Linked DNA regions of Homo sapiens: region 1 is linked to region 2. The links are contacts of gene promoters, found by promoter capture Hi-C in human tissues and cell types (Jung and others, 2019). All regions are on one chromosome and are shown on one strand. Each heading gives the region's core, a stretch centred on a gene start or on the middle of the fragment in contact. The rest is flanking DNA. Distances are from core to core; before and after follow the strand shown. Region 1 overlaps DENND1A (DENN domain containing 1A). Region 2 holds the start of NEK6 (NIMA related kinase 6).

Region 1 (4,074 bases), core at 1,470-3,969, 720 kb before region 2:
ATCATTAACTTTGACAGCAACACTTTGCGAGAAGAAAATGAAGTAACACATTCAAGATACTCAAAATAGAATGTATGAGCCAAGGATCTTCCATCCAGCAAAACTGACTTACATGTTTAAAGGACATAGAAAAGTGATTATCAACTTTTAACAACGGACAGAATATTGTTCCCAGGAACTTTCCTAGGGGATTTACCAGGGAGCAAGTGTCAGGCAATAAAAAATGACTGCAGAGGCATCACCATTAGGACTGGCAGTAACAGACAGAGTCCCCTGAAGACTGAGAGGGAGACAGTGTCTTGCGTAATGGCTGCATGCTCTAGCAATGTAAATACAGCGGAACTAGTCAAAAATGGGAGGAAAGAACATACCAAAAAATAGTTAAAAGGTTTTCTGTAATTATGCTCATGGTAGTATGTGTATTATTTTTGGAGATTATGAAACTAAATTAGTAATTCTGGAGTATTTTATTATTCCTTCTGCCCTTGAGAATCAGAATTTTCATATGGGAGAGAGGAAATACAAATGTAATAGAGAAGAGGTTAAGTAAAAGCTCTGTAGTCTTGAATTTTAATTGGAAGTATCAATATGAACGACAAGAGATTTACGTACATAAGCATATGTTTCCTAGCTCTGTTCAATGAAAAGGCCTAGAAACAATGGCCAACTCAGTAGCAATGAGTATCCTAAGCCAGGTTTTGGTCTTGAGATATAATTTCTCACTAAAAAGAAACCAGTGCTTCCTGAAGAAATGTCTGATTCCAGGTTTGGGGGTAGGATGTACAAGATAAGCCTGGAACCTCTTGTAATATCAGATAGCAAGAGAGCTATCAAAGACTACTAGGTTCATGTAGAAAAAAAGTACTCAGGTGTCAACCTGAAGTATTTCTCACTGACCAAAGATGGGAGGGTTTGAGTTTAATAAAATAATTATTTTAATAATTAAAAATTAAAAGTAATTAAATAAAAAATGACAATCGCAATGAACCAAAATCCATCAAATATGTTGAAATCCACCAGGCAATTATGTGTGTGAGTGTGTGTGTGTGTGTGTGTGTGTGTGTGTGTGTATGAATCCAAAGGTGACAACTCATACATATATATATATATATATATATATATATATATATATATATATATATATATGAATTCATACATATTTATGTATGTATCAATTGTCACCTTTGGAGGATGATAGGGAACCAACAATTCATTATATTAAAAAGTGGTAAATAAAGAGAAAGAGTCAAACATTTATTTTGCTTTGGCTTGTATGAACGCTAACACTGAGTAAATATTAAATGAGGGAAACTGTCTCTTTATAAAAATATTCCAACCAATAAATGAAAAACAAATTATAAGCTTAGAATATCACCATTTTTCAACTCCCAGTGAATAAACAGATATAGATATTAAACACATTGGCTACTAAGATCACTAAAACAGACAAAACAAGACCTGGTATGCCTCCTACAGTCTTGCAAAAGGGACTGAACCTCAGTCTATCCAATCTCTGGATCAACTGTCAATTAGCAGGAAATACAGGGGACAGAGGAACATGGTATGCCATCAGCAAAACTCACACAGTGGGAAATCACCACAGGCTTGAGTTCATACACAAATAAATTGTAAGTAAATGAAAGGGGTGGAGGAGGAACCTATAAGTTGAAAGAGAATTAAAAGTCATATATTTTTAAAACAGAAAAAGTCACCTATAGTTTCCAGGCATAAACATTTGGGTAATAAAACTATTTTTTTTTAATGCAAGGAAGTGATTACCATGAAATCAAGATAGTGGCATGAAATCAAGATAGTGGTTACTTATGGAGAAAAGGAAAGAGTTGGGATGAAAGGGGATTCTAGGGTGGGCAGGAAAGTTCTGTTTCTTGTTTTGGAAAGTGTTGGTCTTATAAAAATTCATGCACTTTGGGAGGCCGAGGCAGGTGGATCATGAGGTCAGGAGAGCGAGACCATCCTGGCTAACACGGTGAAACCCCATCTCCACTAAAAATACAAAAAATTAGCCGGGCACGGTGGCGGGCGCCTGTAGTCCCAGCTACTCAGGAGGCTGAGGCAGGAGAACGGCGTGAACCCGGGAGGCAGAGCTTGCAGTGAGCCGAGATCGCGCCACTGCACTCCAGCCTGGGTGAAAAAGTGAGACTCCGTCTCAAAAAAAAAAAAAAAAAAATTCATTACATCATCCACTTGATTAAGGCAGTTTTATGTTTTATTTTATAATAAATAGATTTTTAAAGGTATAGCGGTACCTACCTAGTGGGAAATACACTATAAAGATTGAATGCCAACACTTCTTTGTAAACAGTGTCAGCATGATGAGGATTATTACTGTATTTTCCACTAAAATACATACACTTTGAGAAAGAAAATCTTGTATCTACCCAACTGTTTCCTCATAGGACAAAATGTAAACTCAGCTATAAATTAAATGGTTACTGTGGTATATTTTAAAAACTAATATTAAGCTCTTACGAAGAGCCAGGTACCATGCTGTATTATCTAACTTAATCTTCACACCAATCCTGTGAGGCAGATTACATTTATTCTTCCCATTTTACAGATGACAAAACTGAAGCTAAGGAGTTAAGTAGCATGCCCAAAATTACAGAAATAGAAAAGTGGTACTTGGAACCCAGGTCTGGCTGACTCCTGTTAAGTAGGTTCCATCTCTTTTCTTCAGTGCCTGCCACTGGGCCTGGTACAGAGGAGGTGGCAGCATTTTTAAAAATAGAATTAGACTGTCTTGGTGAGTCCTAAAGATCAGGAAACAGGTATTAAGATGACATAAGCCACTCCCTGGAGCATCACTTTTTGGAAGAAGAGAAAAAAGAAGTGATGAGTTCCTTTGAGCCCAGCAGTCACAGAGACCCTCCTTTAGGACAGACTGGTCTCCTCAGCACTAGGGCTCGAGTCCAAGCTGGCAAGATGCTTTCTGCATCAAGACTAAATGTGTCTGTGAAACCAGAGAGACGAAAGAAACAGCTACATGCTGCTGACAGCAGGGAGTACGGCAAAAATGTTTTCTGTACCCCAGGAATGCAAAGTCACCACCCTGACACATTGAATTATCAGCTTTAGACTAAGAAGCAAGATGCTAGAGGAGTTCATGTTTCCTCCCTAGATGCTGGAAACCATCACCAAAGAGGATCGGAAGCAGCATGGGACCAGTGGAAAAACCGTGAGTTCTAGAGGCAGACAGACCTGGCTCTAGTCCGACTCTTTCTTCTTGGCACCTACCTCACCTCACCCAGGAGCTTTCTCTATCTTCTTCCTTAGCTTTCTTTTTCTGCATAACACTTATTACCATCAGACATATTATATGTTGATTTTCATCTTTGTTTACTCTCTGTGTCTTCCTAAGGTAGAAGAGATTTGAGGACTAGGACTTCATTTTGTTCACTGCTGCAATTCCAAGCATCTAGAATAGTCCCCTGGTTTAGTAGGGTCTTGGTAAATGTTTGAGCAAAGTTGTTGCATTAAGTAATTTCAATTCTCTCTGCTTTATGTTTCTTATTTAGCAAGTTGGGGATAATACTGTGTACATTTAACCAAGAAAATATACATAAAGGGCAAGAAGTAGGAGTTCAGTGAGTACCAGGTTTTTCCTACCCCTACTTCTTTTGCATAAACACTTATCAACCCAGGATAAAACTAATCAACCCGGGATAAAAGTTTCCCTTCAGAGAACAGATAATGACCTTTTAAGCTGGCAGCTGACTTGCTCAAGACAACCTCAAAACCTCCAGACCATTTTATTGTGAAGACGAGAGTGAACATTCCTCGCAGTAGGAATATGAGCAAAGAAAAGTCCCAAGCAACTAGCTTATGAATAATGCCAGTGAGCTGTGACTGATGGAAACAGGGTTGAGTGGAGACCTGCCAGGTCACATCACTAACAGGGACCAGCAAGCCAAACATAAATAATCTCCAGTTAAAGGGTTTCCAAAAATCCTGCCACGCCTCCATGGAATGTGACTGCTGGTGAATTGGGCATTCACTGGATAAAAAGTTTGCTGTGGAGGGCAGGAAAGATGCACAGAGGACGAGTACTTCCCA
Region 2 (3,702 bases), core at 428-2,927:
TGAATATGGCCAGTATCACAAATCCTCTAGTAACACTGCAATACGCTGTCTCAGAACTTCGATTTCTTTCTATTATTTGTTGCAGTGTTTATTTCTTCTATTTAACTTTTCAATCTGTCTGACATTTATTGTGGTGTATATCATGGGAGGCAAGGCTGTAAACAGATCTCCAGCTAAACGGCTAAACAATTTGCAGAACAATCCATTTCCTCCCCATTGGTTTGTGATGTCTGCATTTTCATCCACAAGAGCTGGGACCAGGCCCGCTCCTGTGGGCCAGCTGCTGCCTCGTCTGCCCTCTTGTTCCAGAAGCCCAGGGCTATGCTGTTCCTGAGGCAGGGCTGCCTAGTGATTGGCCACACAGGCACTGGAATTAGACAATCTGCCGTGCACTTTCCAGCTCAACCACTTACCATCTGGGTGACTTTGAACAAAAGAATTTGCTTTTTATTGTTGTTGTCCAGGTTGGAGTGCAGTGGTGCGATCATAGCTCACTGCAGCTGCTAACTCCTATGCTCAAGAGACCCTCCCGCCTCAGCGTCCCGAGTAGCTGGGACTGCAGGCAGGCACTACCACACCCAGCTAATTCTTACATTTTTCTGTAGACATGGGGTTTTGCTATATTGCCCAGGCTGGCCTCAAACTCCCAGCCTCAAGGCATCCTCCCACCTCAGCCTCCCATAGTACTGGGATTACAGGTGTGAGCCACCGCACCCAGCCTGAAATTTCATTTCTAAGCCTCAAAGCCCATCTGTAAAATGGGCACAAGGGTAACGTTGGCACACGTGGTGGACGCTCCGTTGGTGTCATTATTACAGATCACGGCCAGTTGAAGCACTTCCACTCATTTGGCAAACAGAAGCCAGACGGGCATTCACCCTGTGCCCAGTACAGTGCTGCGCCCAAGCAGGCAGTCAGTGTCCCTGGCTCCAGCCCTCCTGGGGTGCAGCACAGTTTTGAATGTGGAGGGGAGGCAGCAGGGGTGGAAACAGCCCAGCCAGGAGCGGCCGCTCTCGGTGCGGGGAGGAGGTGAAGTGAGAACTGAGCTGCTTGGGTCTCAGGGAGGCTCTGACTTCTAGAGGGGGCGTTCAACATTCTTTAGTGGGGACTTTTACTACTTCCAGAAACCTCTGCACATTGGCTCTTGCTGGTCCCCCGGGGGCCACAGGAAGTGGGAGCTCCAGATGAAGAGTCGCTGGCACTTTGAGGGCAGGGGGCAGGGCCTTCCCCTCATCGGAATACTCTTGGAGCCTACTTCAGTGCCTGCATTCAGCTGGTGCACAATAAGTGCTTGTTACTGTGCCAATTTCAGTATGACTAGGGCTGTGGTAGGAGCAATGCTAGGCGATGGGGAATCCGAAGACGCACAGGAGTCCAAGGGTTGGCTGACTGCAGACCCTCATCATAAGTCTAGAGCCGGAGAAGATGGGGAGACGCCGGCCTGCGCCCTGTGAGTCTGGGCCTCAGTCTTCCCATCTCTGAAATGGGGAAGGGGTTCCTCGGCCGAGCGGATCGGCCGCAGAACTCGGCGGAGTCGAGGGGTCCAGGCCCAGGAAGGACGCCGCCGGGGCGCCCCCCGCCCCTCAAGCTTGCGTGGCGGCAGCGCGCACGAGCGCTGGGGGCGGCGCGGCCCCGCGGCGGGGAGGGGCGGGCGCGCGGGCGCGCGGGCCCGCGCAGGCGGTGGCGGCGGCGGCGGAACCGAGCTGACGGGCGTGCGGCCGCTGCGCCGCAAACTCGTGTGGGACGCACCGCTCCAGCCGCCCGCGGGCCAGCGCACCGGTCCCCCAGCGGCAGCCGAGCCCGCCCGCGCGCCGGTGAGTCGCCTGGGGCTGGGGCCGGGCCGGTGGGGCCCCGCGGCCCGGAGAAGGGCGGGGGCCGGGCGGCGGGGCCGTCACCCCCAGCCGGGCCGAGGGCGGGCGCGCGCCCACGGCTCCGCGGGGGAGAGCGGGAGGCGGGCGCGAGTGTGGCCGCGCGGGGCTGAGCGTGTCGGCGGCCGGGCGGGCGGGGGCGGCGTGTCCGCGTGTCCCGGGGTGTGCGCGTCCCCGGCGGGTGTGCGTGTGCACCCCGGAGCGTCTGGTGGCGTTGTTGGGGTGAGTGCGTGCGGGGACGCGGGCATGGCTCCCCGCTACCCACTTCCCGAGTGGGGACGACGGGCGGAGGAGTGTGCCGGGCGCCGCAGGGAGTACGTGCGGGTCTCAGGGAGTGTGTGTGTGCACGTGTGTGCATTCCAAAGTGATTTGTGTGCAAGCACATGCGTGAGCCTAGAAGGGCGAAAGTATGCCTGTGTGGGTGTGAGTATAACGAGTGTGCAGGGCCGTGCGAGCGTGTTTATTACTGAGGTTGAGGGGCCGGCCCCCTTTGCGCCCACCAGGCCTTTGCACAGTGATGGCCCCCGAGCCAGGGAGCCCGTGGAGAGAGAAGCGGCCTGGCATGGGCTGGGGGTCGGGGCTGGGCCTGATCCGGTGAACCAGGGGCCAGGAGGGCAGACTCAGAGCCTGGCTGGGCCTGACAGAGGCAAAGGTCTTAGAGCCAGGCTGCGGCAGGGCCACTGGCAGGACCCTCTCTGCATACACAGGCTGGGCGAGCGGAGGCTGTGGTGGGCCCCTCGGCCGGGCACCCGAGGACGTGTGTTTTCCTAAATATCCTCCAGGCTCTCCTGTCTTTGTTCTTGTCTCTCTCCAGCCAGGCCTGGGGGGCTGACCCTAGACTTGCCTGTGTATGTGGGGGCCTCTCTGCCTGCCCTGCTAAGTAGACGGATCTTTTGATTTATTTATACCTCTCCTAGGCTCCAAGTGTGAATCCCAGGACAGTAACAAATTGATCACAGCGGGCTTGGGACACCAGCTTCCGAGGTCTGTCCTTGCAGTTTTGACTGACAGGCTTTTGTGTGTGTGCGTGCTCTCTAACTGTTGAAAATCTTTGCAGCTGAAAGTCTTAATTGCTTTAAGGCAAACTTTAGAAATTCCAGAGCTCCCTAGTTGGTCTGACTTTTCCAAATTCAGCTTGCCTTTTTTGGGGGAAAATGTCGCCTTAGTTTGGTGTACAGTACGTGCAGGCAGGTCTTGGAGGCACGTTTAAAAACCCTGTCGTTAATGGAAGAAGAATTTCATTGAAAGGGACGCAGAGCCGTCTGGAAGCGCCTGCCCCGGACTCAGCGAGTTTGGACTCAGCGAGTTTGAGCTTACCGAATGAACTTTGGACGTCTTCTTTTAGCAAACAAAACCTGGAAGGAAGCAAAAAAGACCCACATTCTTTTTCTTTTTTCTCCTGAAAATGAAAAAAAGAAAACACCTTCTGGGTTTGCTGGAAATGCCCCCTCTCCTTCCCCCATCAAGGCCAAGCCCTCGCTGCGTCCCCCACCCCCAAATAAAATATGCCTGTGGGGAGCCGTGGAATGAGTCACTCCCTGGCAGAGAGCCTGACGGGCAAACATTTGGGAAGGTTCTTGCCTAACTTCCCAGAAGAAAAGGCCCAGGATTTAAAATGGTCCCTGTGGTTTGTCAGCCTCTGCTGTCCCGTCTGCTTCGGAAATGACTAAAAAGTAGTTTGTATCTCCACAAAATAAAGTCTCAGACTGAAGGCCTTAGACCCAGGTTGGTCTGGATTTAGAGCTGTTTGGGTTTCCAGAAATGGAGCGCCTGGCTTTAACTGGTGGCATTTCTGGTGGGTTTGAACAAGGGCAGAGGAGGGAAATGGGGAGGA

What was found. Contacts are between HindIII fragments. The study calls those that stand out against the background at their distance.
Region 1: a contact is called between a fragment that was not itself captured here and the fragment with the promoter of NEK6 in region 2, in 1 of the 25 tissues and cell types used here (dorsolateral prefrontal cortex).

Annotation. Positions count from the first base shown.
Region 1 is chr9:123,537,714-123,541,787 of GRCh38, forward strand. The region is part of intron 13 of DENND1A (DENN domain containing 1A); the gene reads right to left. Among named protein-coding and RNA genes, the nearest start is that of MIR7150, 54 kb to the left of the region's middle. The HindIII fragment of the contact is 4,894 bases long and covers 273-4,074 here.
Region 2 is chr9:124,256,272-124,259,973 of GRCh38, forward strand. It overlaps NEK6 (NIMA related kinase 6), which reads left to right and starts at 1,678. Exons shown (of 10, transcript NM_014397.6): 1 at 1,678-1,814. It overlaps LOC613206 (a long non-coding RNA gene), which reads right to left. Exons shown (of 2, transcript NR_149024.1): 2 at 2,939-3,223. RefSeq lists silencers at 1,698-1,827, 1,888-2,257 and an enhancer at 2,295-3,240. The HindIII fragment of the contact is 13,117 bases long and covers 1-3,702 here.